Linked DNA regions of Homo sapiens: regions 1, 3 and 4 are each linked to region 2. The links are contacts of gene promoters, found by promoter capture Hi-C in blood cells and fetal thymus (Javierre and others, 2016). All regions are on one chromosome and are shown on one strand. The core of a region is centred on a gene start or on the middle of the fragment in contact, and the rest is flanking DNA. Distances in the headings are between cores, read along the strand shown.

Region 1 (2,700 bases), core at 201-2,700, 130 kb before region 2:
AGAGAGAGAAACAAAGGCAGTAAATTATTTTGTGACATGTCTTAGATTTTGAGGAAAAACAGAATTGCAACTTAGGTTTTATCTAATTTTATCTACTTTATGACCTTGCAGCAGCATGGCAAAAGAGACAGGATTTTACAGGACTTTACAAAGTATGTTCACAAGGAATTGGAATTGGGAGCATAGATAAGGTCCGCTGGTCACAGAAAAAGGGTCTTTTAACATTCCTTTTAGTTTTAGGGGAGGGGGAAGGAAGAGAGGGAGAGAGGACACAGGGAAGCTTACAGCAGAATTTTTGCTGTTTATAGCTTTCTTGGGGAAGGAAACACATGCACAAATCCTGGTGTTAGGAATATTTTAGGCATGTATCTTCAGTACTCTTCATCCAGGACCGAAGTAAGTCCTGATGCAGGAAATGAGTGTTTCACAGCTTTCTGAACCCCTACTCGACCCAGGAAGCCCAGCTGGACCCTCCTTTCATGAGCAGGTTGGTCAGCCCCTGCACTGCCCCTTCCAGCCTCTGTGCATCTCTTGGGGACGGGGCAAGTGCTCAGGCCTTCTGGTTTCGGGCCTCCTGCCGTGAGCAGCAGCTGGATCCAGGACCCTGGGAGGAGTTCCTGTGTCCTGCAGGTCTCAGCTCCTACTCAACGTGGGCTCTTTCCGGGAACGTCAGTGCTGAGTCCGGGACACCCTGGGCCCAAGGCCACGCTCGCGGCCTGTCGGCAATCCAGGCTGTCGGCTCAGGACAGAGGGAAGGGTTAAGCCCCCAGCAGGGCCAGGGAGGGGCAAGGTGGCACCGGCTCCCCAGCTGCTCCCAGGCCCTGCTCTGTGGTGCTGGGGACCTGGCTTTAGTTCCTCGGGGGTGGAGGGGGCACCGCGCTGCCTGCCTCCGAGCTGTCTGGAGCAGCCAGTCCTGCAGATGTGGGCAGCTCAGGGCCCGTGGGAGGGAGGGGGCTTTGTGCCCAGGGCAGCAGCTGAAGGAGCCCCGGGCCTCGCAGCCCCTCCTGGGTGACCAGGTGCTGCTTCGTGGCAGCTGCCCCCTCCCGTCCAGCGGGTATGGGCCCTGCTCCCCCGTGGTGGGGGCGGCGCAGGAGAGTGGAGCGACCCTCATCTAAGTTACCTCTACCCGGGTCTGAGCCCCCGGACAGACACCCCCGCCCCGACCTGGTTACAGCGCCCTTCCCCGGTTCGGTCTCCGGTGTGCGCATGTGGGGTGCCCCATGGGCGGCCGCGGTGGGAGCTGGGGTGGCCATGCGCGCCCCCGCCCCGCCGTCCACCCGCGACTCCAGGTCTGGATCTACTCGCCCTCCCCACCCTTTCCCGCCCCCAGCCCCGGAGCCGCGCTCTCACCCCAGGGGCGGCAAGGGCGATGGACGCGGAGGAAGCGCCCTCTCCCCCTCGGGGGTCTCCCGGAGGCGAGTCCCGAAGGGGGCGAACTCCGAAGTGGGTCCCGGGTGGGAGGCGCGCGGCCCCGCCCGGCGGGGAGGGGGAAGCGGCGGAGGCGGGTGCTCAGCGGCGCCCCTGGCGGCGGCCGGCGCAGGTGCAGGTCCCGGAGGAGGCTCCGCCCGCAGCCCAGACCCCCGCGGGGTGGGCGGGACGCGGACCCTGAGACCCGCAGCGCCGGACCCGGACGGGAGCCCCTCTCCTCCCCCTCGGGCACGTCCCCGGCCGAGCCTTCCCGCCCTCCTCTGGGGCTCCCACCTCCCCTTCACCCGCGGGGGACCCGATTTCCGCGTCTCCTGGGCCCCTCCCTGGGCAGGGGGTCCAGCCGGAATCCAGGAGTGACCTGCTGGAGGACTTGGTGGCCAGGGAGTCACCCTGGGAGCCCGGTCCTGTGACCCCTTAATGGATTCTCTGCGCTCCTGGGCGGGCCCCTTGGTCGCATCGGGGCAGGGGAATCGCAATAAGGAAAGTGTAATTCACGCAGAGCCGGCTGCGGGGGAGACGGGAGTTTTATTATTACTCAAATCCTTCTCCCCAAAAACGTGGGGATCCGAGTTTCGAAGGATGATATGGTGGGTAGGCGGCCAGTGAGTCAGGAGCGCTGACCGGTCCGGTTGGAGATGAAGTCTTGGGGAGTCGAAGCTGTCTTCCCAACCCTAACCCAGCTCCTCGGTGGGGGCCACAGGACCACATGAGCAAGATTGTGGATTTAGGTGGTGCCAGCTGATCCATTGAGTACAGGGTCTGTAAAGTATCTCAAACTCTGATCCTAGGTTCTACAGTAGTGCTGTGATCCCCGGGAGCAATTTAGGGGTGGCGGGGTCAGAATCTTGCATCCTCCAGCCGCGTGACTCCTAAACCATAATTTCTAATCTTGTGGCTAATTTGTTAGTCCTGCAAAGGCAGTCTGGTCCTCAGGTAGGAAGGGGGCTTGTTCAGCCTTGATCTATAAACTGTTTCTCTCCAGATTAGTTTAGGCTAAGCCCAGGGATGAGCAAGGGCAGCTTGGAGGTTAGAAGCCAGGCGGAGTGGGTTAGGGTCAGACCTCCTTCACTGTCATCATATTCTCAGTTATGACTTTTGCAAAGGTGGTTTCAGTTCCATGCCTGCCCCTCAGAATCCTGTCTCCCTCTTGTGCCCTGCAGTTTCTTCCTTCCTAAACTGCCCGTGATTTAAAGAAGCTTCCAAAATACCTTCCACGGGAAATTCAAGCCCCACCCCACTCCGCAGTGATGTGTGGCCTTTGATAGGAGGTCA
Region 2 (2,796 bases), core at 263-2,762:
TCCGTTTCCGACCTGGACCGGTTCACCCCTCCTTAGGCAACTTGGTGGTCCCCTGCTCCTGGGAGGTCACCATACTGATGTGCGGACAGCCAGTCAGCCTAACACACTACAGCCCAGAACTCCCAGGCTCGAGCAACCCTCCTGCCTCAGCCTCCGGAGTAGCTGGGACCGCAGGCTCATGCCACCACGCCCGGGTTCCAGCAGTCCTCCTGCCTCAGCCTCCCGAGTAGCTGGGAGCGCAGGCACGCGCCACCACGCCCGGGTTCGAGCAGTCCTCCTGCCTCAGCCTCCTGAGTAGCTGAGACTGCAGGTGCATGCCACGACGCCCGGGTTCAAGCAATCCTCTTGCCTCAGCTTCCGGAGTAGCCGGGACCACAGGCATGCGCCACCAGGCCCGGCTGCAACTGTCTTTTTTGAAGGACTGATGCTCTCACTTCCAACAAACCAGGTGCTGCTTCTCCCAACCCAACCCCTGGCCAGCCCCAAGTCTCTCCTCTAACCCCCAGCATGGGAGGAAGGGGCTGGCAGAGGGGACCCTGAGCTCAGGCTAAGGGGCATCAGGTGCTGGGCTGAGCAGCCAGGGTGTCAGACCTGGATGTGGAGGGCCGAGGAGAGCCCTGGGCGGAGATGGAGCAAGAGGCCGCCGGCGCAGCCCACACGTGGAGGCCCTGGCAGGCCGAGAGGGAGGCTGGTTTCACTCCACACCTCACCACTGCCTCCTCCCTGGGCCGACCAGGTGCTGACCTGCCCAGGTGTTGGCCCTGGCCCCAGGTGACCTCTTCACTGGCAGAGGGGAGAAAGGATGTCTTTCTACGTGTTCACCTGCACTCCCTCCCCCAGAATCGGAATCCAGCAGCAGCAGTCAGCGCCCACCCCCAGAATCGGAATCCAGCAGCAGCAGTCGGCCCCCACCTGTGCTGGGCGGGGTCCTTGGGGAGCAGAGAGCCCACAGCCCGCCGGCCACTCTGCAGCTCCCAACCCTGGGGCAGCCTGCCTGGTGCCCACAGCCCGCTCCCCCTTAGGGGCCAGCTGCAAGGCAAAGCTGCCAGGTCTGGGGTCCTCAGCAGCAGCCCCCGCCTCGGTGGGCAGGCCCTCTCCATCTCGTGTTCAGGACTCTGGTAGAGGTTCCTGGCCCCACACACTAGCTGAGAGCCCAGCCCTGGTGCCCTCAGAATCCCGGGCTGGAGGGAGGAACGCCGCCCGCCTCCAGCACTTCCAACCCCCAGCGTGCCCCAGGAGTCCAGGAGGCAGCTTAGCTGAGCCGGGCGGTCACCCTCGCCTGACCGGGCAGCCTGCAGGGACCCCCCCCACACACACAGGCGCCTTCCAGGTGGGGCTGGCGGGGGGCTGGGGCCGGGGGCCCCAGGTGTGGGCGTGGCTGGGGGCCTTGAAGGTGTGGACCCTTTTGAGCGCAGGACTCACCTGCATGCTGGCTGTGGCCGGAGTTCCAGCTGGGGTTTGGCGGCCAGGAGAGTGGCTGCCAGCGGCGGGTGCTCCTACCTGACTTCCGCGTGGGGCTCGCCCCTCCCTCCTCCTCCTCCAGCGTCCTGCAGCTGCCGCGCCTGGGTGTAGTCGGGGCGGAGCCAGCATCCAGGCCAGGAGAGTACCCCAGCCCCTGGAGCCTGGGACACCTTCCTGGAGCCCAGATGGCGGGTCAGGGGCCAGAGGGGAATTCCTAGGCTGGAGTTCCCGGGAAGGGGGTTTCCACTGTGAGATGGGTCTCATGACACCTGGTCCTAGGGGGAAGCAGGATGGCACAGAGCCCCTGACAGAGCCAGCACCAACGCCCCCACTTGCCTTGCCTCTCTCACCCCCGCTCACACATCCCCATGTTCCCTCCAAAAGCATCCCACCCCAGGCCATGCCCCCCACCCCGGGCCACGGCCCCCCACCCCGGGCCACGGCCTCCCCCACCCCGGGCCACGGCCTCCCCCACCCCGGGCCACGGCCCCCCACCCCGGGCCACGGCCCCCCACCCCACAGGTCCAGTGCTGATTCCCTTAGAGGAGAAACTGGGGCAAGGAGGACTGACGACGAGACAGACTCCCAAAGAAACTGTCTGCTCCTACCCAAGCCCCTGCTTTCTGGGCCCCACTGGGGAATCCTTGGAGTCCTGGGGACACGTGGCTGGCCCCAGGCTGTGTAGACAACGGAGGAGGAGCCCTCCACCCCGCATCCCCAGTCCCTGAGCACGTTCTGTGCAGCCTGGGCTGAGGGCGGCAGCTGGGCAGGCTCTGGGTGTCCTGAGAGTGACCGTCCAGTGGAGTGCCCTGAGGAGGGAAGGGCTGCGGGGAGTGGGGGCCCAGGCCGTGGGCTGGCACACATTATCTGCAGCGTGTGTGGCGAGGAGTCTGCTTCTGAAAGCTGCTGCAAAGCTGGGGAGGCAGGGCCAGAGCTCCGCAGGCAGACGCTGTCACACGGAACGGCTCCAGGCCCACTGGGGCCAGAGCACCCCCCGGCAAGCCCAGCAGCCCTCTGCTGTGGTCCAGGCCCAGGGCCAACAGTCGGCTCTGGTTTCCCCAAGGGGTAACATGGTCCCACCCATGTTTCTCCTTGGGGGACCTCCTGGCAGGCTGGGATGGCAGCAGAGACCACAGCTTTGCCACTTTGGCAAAGACAAGCGAGTGAAGTGGTGGCCGAGGACCTGTGAGCTCAGATGGGGCAAATCCAAATGGAACACATTCAGATCTGTGTGCAAAATGGTGGTGGCTTAAACAAGCTGTGTATTTCTCCTATAAGTGAAATCTGGAGTTGGCCGGGCGCAGTGGCTCATGCCTGTAATCCCGGCGCTTTGGC
Region 3 (2,700 bases), core at 158-2,657, 230 kb before region 2:
AGACAGTGGAGCCTCAGCAGGCAGCAGTGGGATGAGTGGGGCTCCTCACAGGAACCCTTCTTTCTTTGGTCAGGAAGACGCTGCCCTTTACCGACACCTGGGGACCCTTCTCCGGCACTGTGTGATGATCGCTACTGCTGGAGACCGCACAGAGGAGTTCCACGGGTGAGAATGGGGCTTTTTCTGGGAGGGAAGTGTGCCCACATGTCTAGATGGTCGTCCTCAACCCCGGCTCTGAACCAGAACCACCTGAGAGCCCAGGCCCCACCCTAGAGAGTCTGACGTTGTCTGGGTGAGTGAGACTGGACATAGCCATGAATTTGGGGGCAGGAATGTGCCAACTGGGCCTTGGGTAGTGGCAACAGTATGGTACTTACTAGGGCACATTGGTTCCTTGTCCCCGTTTTTGGTCTACCTGCCCCTAGGCTGGTCTGGGTTTCCAGAGATGGTCTGGCGCTTTGGCTCAGACAGGGTCGGGGAGGCAGTGTGTCTCAGTGCCCCCACTTCCCCAGGGGACCCCACTGTACAGCTGAGTGGCAGTGCCTCTCAGATCAGTCCCTGCCCTTGGCTTTGGTCCCTAGCGCTGCCCCTTTGGGACTCAGATGCCAGCTCATGTAATGTGTGGTTCAGCGGAGTCACAAAGATTGCACCTGTGCTCAGGGATTAGCCCTGTTGAAACCCCTACCTCCATCTGTCCCCAGCCACGCAGTGAACCTCCTGGGGAACTTGCCCCTCAAGTGTCTGGATGTTCTCCTCACCCTGGAGCCACATGGAGACTCCACGGAGTTCATGGGAGTGAATATGGATGTGATTCGTGCCCTCCTCATCTTCCTAGAGAAGCGTTTGCACAAGGTAGGCTGGGGATGGCTGTGCAGGCTCCCCCAGTGGCTCTGGCACTGGTTCTCCTGCACAGATGTGGTCAGTGCTTCCACACTGTCCACACTGGTACGTGGAGATTGTCTTGGTGGTGTGATATGGGCGACTCTTCCGGTTGTTCTGTGGTCCAGCCTGGCAAGAAGCCAGACCCTTCCTCCATGAGAAGCATGTGGACACCTTCCACACACTTGAAGGTTTCACTTCTTAAATCTTTGGGGATCTTTACTGAGTGGTCCAGAGAAGCCCCCCAGTCCCTACTTTTAAGTCTTAAACACAGGCAGCCCTTGATTACAAGCATAGTTGTCCCTCAGCATCCTGAGGAGACCCATAGGAACCTCAGATCAAAGCTTCCTTCTGATTGCTGTGACTGCACTACAGGGCATCTGGACAGCTGGGGCTCTAACCATCTTCCAGGAGCTTGCAGAAAGCAGGCTGGAGTACAATAAACCGAGATTTAGTAGACCTCCTGGGAATCTACCTGCCTAAGCAAGGGACACACAAGGTGCCTGCGAGCCAGTCAGGATAGGGAGCTGGCACTGGACACACAGCTAGGGGGTTGTCTGTGCCCGTCGCTGCCACTGCTGGTGCTGGGGTCCAGGCACATTATGCTAGGAGGGTCAAGAACTCCCTGCTCTGTCCACGAAGTACACAGAGCGGGGATTCGGTTCTCGTTTCTTTTTGCCACCAACATCTGAGGGCAATGTGTGTGCGAGTCTAAAGCTTTAATTGCTTTGTGTTTTCTTCCCAGCTCTGGTTTATAGTTGAAGTAATTAGACTTAAAGCAGTTATTTCTCCCAAGTCACAAAGCTTACGAGTACCTCTGAGTTACGCTCTATCCCTGTCCTTTTCAAAAGTGACACAGACACCCACCACCCACTCTTGGCCTTCTGCTGACTAACTGCAGAGGGGCCTCTTCCCAAACCTCTGCCGCCAGGACCAGCTGTTGTGTATGTTGGTGGGAAGGGGTGGTGGGGAGGTGTAACTCTGTGCCAGTCACAAGTTAGGCAGGGGCATAGCCCCAGTGACAGAGAATCCTCTACAGACACACAGGCTGAAGGAGAGTGTAGCTCCCGTGCTGAGCGTGCTGACTGAATGTGCCCGGATGCACCGCCCAGCCAGGAAGTTCCTGAAGGCCCAGGTATAAGGCTGAGGAGCTGGTGCTCCTGGGGGATGTGGTTTCGGCCCTGATCACAGACCCTTGGCTGCTCTAAGCCCAAGCTTAGGGATGGCCACCTCCCCAGGTGCTGCCCCCTCTGCGGGATGTGAGGACACGGCCTGAGGTTGGGGAGATGCTGCGGAACAAGCTTGTCCGCCTCATGACACACCTGGACACAGATGTGAAGAGGGTGGCTGCCGAGTTCTTGTTTGTCCTGTGCTCTGAGAGTGGTGAGTTATGGAGACCCAGGTCCCAGCCCACCCCACCTCAGCCAGGCTTGCACACTGACCTCTGCCTTGCCCCTCAGTGCCCCGATTCATCAAGTACACAGGCTATGGGAATGCTGCTGGCCTTCTGGCTGCCAGGGGCCTCATGGCAGGAGGCCGGCCCGAGGGCCAGTACTCAGAGGATGAGGACACAGACACAGATGAGTACAAGGAAGCCAAAGCCAGGTGTGTACCCCCAACACACCCTCGGGTCTCCACTCACAGCCCCATAGTCCCTGCTTCCACACCCATGTGGACCCCTGTAGGGTGGGACAGGATGACAAATGGGCAAGAGCTTCCAGAATCAAGCACCTGTTCCTAAGTGCTATCTGGGATACCAGAAGGTGGCAGATGGCAGGAGCTGGTTACCTGTGCCGCTTCTGGAGGGAGGCCTCTTCCTGC
Region 4 (2,745 bases), core at 229-2,728, 190 kb before region 2:
GGTGTCACAGAAGATGTAGAAGTCATAGTGACCTAAGGTCTGTGTGACCTTAGGAATGAGTGAAGAGGTACGGGAAGAGTGCACTCAGCGGAGAAAACGGAAAAGTTTAGTATCTTTGCTGAACTGAAAGAGGGATGTGTGAGGCTAACATGAGTGGGTGGGAGAGAGCATGGGATGAAGGAGGAACAAATGCCTGGTGAAGAGAATGGGAGAGCGGTGGGTGCAGGGAGGGGGAGAGCGGCGGGTGCGGGGAGGGGGAGAGCGGCGGGTGCGGGGAGGGGGAGAGCGGCGGGTGCGGGGAGAGGGAGAGGTCCATGCAGGGAGAACAGCCAATTCACCTCAGTGCAAGGGGAGGGCAGGCACTGGGTGAAGTTGTCTCTGGAAGGTGGGAGTTAGGGAAAGGTGCTCAACAAGGGCTTGAGCTTTAATGATAAGTATGTTCTTTTTTAATGAGATTATTAGAAGTAAATATTAATAAAATGTTAACTGTGGTAGGAATTATGGTTATTTTTGTATTTTTCTGAAACTTTCAATTTTCTCAGTTTAAAATAAACTTGTAAAATTCATGCATAGTGGAGCAGGGTAGATATAGATGAAGGCACTGTGAAGAGGCAGAAAGCACAGATGCAGCCAGACCTAACTGTGGTCTGATTATTTATTGATATCTCAAAAAAAGGTGACACTCAGAAAGGAAGATGGCTAGTTATAGCAATTTAAAGAAAAAAAAAAAATCGTAGATGCATGTTGGCAGCATCTATTCAGGCAGCAAAGCCTGTCTGGAGGGGTAGTGAGCCCTTTACAGAGCTTGACCTGTCCAGTACTTGTGGCAGAAATGTCCCCATCGGGGCTACCTGTGTCAGGATATGAGTTGCTATTTGAATTAAAACAACAAGTCTCCTTGGTTTAATTCTGTGCTCACAGGTAACGTTTTGATCCATAAGAAGAGATGATGCATATCTTGCAGAAGCGTATATTCTAGTTCTCAGGACAATGATATTTTTCATTATAAATTAATAACTTGCTCTTTTGATTCAGAACAAGTCTCTAGAACTTAAGGAAGCTTTTCCTCAGAGGGGCTCCACTTGCACTGGCTCACTGAGCCGGCAGCAGCCCTTGAAAGAACCCCCCTGGGCAGTAGGGTGTATCCTTCCCAACAGCACCTTGACCAGGAGAGTCTTCTCGAAATGCCCGTACCCTGTGGCCCTGCCTAATGGTGTCTGTAGCATTAATACAAATCTTACCTTGTAAATTCCTTGCCTTGACAAAGTGTCCCAGTTAGGTGCGACTCTTTCCATTTCCTAAGAAGAATGAAGCTCAGATCACTTGTTGTTAATGAGCTTCAGCAGTCTGCAATGTGAAATGTTTGGATCTGCTTAGCTGGTTTTTGTTGGGTCTACTGTTATAGAACGAATTCCAGATCCCCAGTTAAGTAACTGATAAGCACAAACATGGAAGACATTTTTCTGTCTTTCTATACTTTACAGCCTGATTTAGCAGCTAATGAAGCCCAGCTTCTGAGGAAAATTCAGTTGTTGTGCCTCATGGAGGTAAGCGAACACCCAGGAGCCACTTTGTCTGTGGTTTCAGATTTTGGTCAGGTGGGGGCGCTGCACTCTCCAAGCCTGTGCTGAGCAGTGTGAGCTTTCAGTGGTGCTGCTTCTGCTGTGCGCCGCTCTCTTCACCACCTTCCTTTTCCTTTGCTACCACTTGCTCTTCTAAGTTTATATTTGGCTCTTAGCTCAGACGACACCCTCCCACCCCACTGCCACCACCCTGAGGCCTTCCCTGACCATCTGAACTGAGATGAAGTAGCTGCCCCTCTCCCCGTGATGCAGTTGTTGCCTCATTGCATGTCGCTTCTTGTGTACACGCACATCTGTCTTTCCCCACTAGAACTTAAGCTTCGTCAGGAAGTGGCCCTTAGATTTCTGGTTTGCCGTGGTCACCCCTGGTCAACCCTGGCAAATTGTGGCCTCAAGTACTTGTTCGGGGATTGAACAATGGCTACTGTCAGAAACTCCTGTAAGGCATTTTGCTGTTATCCTTCTTATCTAAGCATTAAAAGCTTGTTCTTAACAAGATATATGTCTAATATTAGGAAACTTTTTAGTATGTGGGGTACTAATAAGATCTCTATTTTCAGAGCCAATATTGACAAAACATCCTTATCAGTTCTCTATTTTTATTTGGAAAAATAGTTTAAAATAGTTAATAAAATTTTTTCCAGATGACTTTCACACGACCTGCCAATCACAGACAACTCACTTTTGAAGAAATTGCCAAAAGTGCTAAAATCACAGTGAATGAGGTACGGTCCCTAGGCTCAGGGTGTTAGAGCAGCAAAGCTGCCACATGGAGGAGTCAAGGCTCTTGTGTGAGCGCTGTGCTCCCTAGACAGTAAAAAATGACGGGAGGAGCGGCATCTGCTTCTCACAAGCCATCTGGGTCCATGGGGGTGTGTCAGGCTATCTTGTCTTACACACGCCTCCCTCTCTGCACAGGTGGAGCTTCTGGTGATGAAGGCCCTTTCGGTGGGGCTGGTGAAAGGCAGTATAGACGAGGTGGACAAACGAGTCCACATGACCTGGGTGCAGCCCCGAGTGTTGGATTTGCAACAGGTGATGTGTTTGAAACCCATTATTCACCTCTGTGGATTTTGAGGGGTTGTGTCTATACCGTCTTAGTTTCATTTGGATGGAAGCCATTTGGGAAGACAGCATTATTAGACAAGAGGTTTTGGAGAAG

Evidence for each region. The method cuts DNA at HindIII sites, captures the fragments that hold promoters and counts their contacts. A CHiCAGO score of 5 or more calls a contact.
Region 1: a contact is called between a fragment that was not itself captured here and the fragment with the promoter of ANO9 in region 2, in 1 of 17 cell types (total CD8 T cells). The highest score is 5.5, in total CD8 T cells.
Region 3: a fragment that was not itself captured here is called in contact with the fragment with the promoter of ANO9 in region 2 in 1 of 17 cell types (naive CD4 T cells); the score reaches 5.2 in naive CD4 T cells.
Region 4: a contact is called between a fragment that was not itself captured here and the fragment with the promoter of ANO9 in region 2, in 4 of 17 cell types (total CD8 T cells, naive CD4 T cells, total CD4 T cells and 1 more). The highest score is 10.8, in total CD8 T cells.

What each region holds. Positions count from the first base shown.
Region 1 is chr11:309,685-312,384 of GRCh38, forward strand. No RefSeq gene overlaps it. Among named protein-coding and RNA genes, the nearest start is that of IFITM1, 3.0 kb to the right of the region's middle. RefSeq lists an enhancer at 1,866-2,471. The HindIII fragment of the contact is 2,344 bases long and covers 279-2,622 here.
Region 2 is chr11:440,499-443,294 of GRCh38, forward strand. It overlaps ANO9 (anoctamin 9), which reads right to left and starts at 1,513. Exons shown (of 23, transcript NM_001012302.3): 1 at 1,423-1,513. The coding sequence starts at 1,428. LOC105376506 (a long non-coding RNA gene) reads left to right here. Exons shown (of 5, transcript XR_007062542.1): 5 at 1-175. It also overlaps the pseudogene RN7SL838P. RefSeq lists silencers at 1,287-1,366, 1,411-1,705 and enhancers at 1,537-1,806, 2,114-2,796. The HindIII fragment of the contact is 10,543 bases long and covers 1-2,796 here.
Region 3 is chr11:210,498-213,197 of GRCh38, forward strand. RIC8A (RIC8 guanine nucleotide exchange factor A) reads left to right here. Exons shown (of 10, transcript NM_001286134.2): 4 at 74-165; 5 at 702-852; 6 at 1,919-2,014; 7 at 2,118-2,262; 8 at 2,340-2,484. Among named protein-coding and RNA genes, the nearest start is that of MIR6743, 2.5 kb to the left of the region's middle. The HindIII fragment of the contact is 373 bases long and covers 1,222-1,594 here.
Region 4 is chr11:249,319-252,063 of GRCh38, forward strand. PSMD13 (proteasome 26S subunit, non-ATPase 13) reads left to right here. Exons shown (of 13, transcript NM_002817.4): 10 at 1,485-1,547; 11 at 2,228-2,308; 12 at 2,502-2,618. Among named protein-coding and RNA genes, the nearest start is that of PSMD13, 14 kb to the left of the region's middle. The HindIII fragment of the contact is 841 bases long and covers 1,059-1,899 here.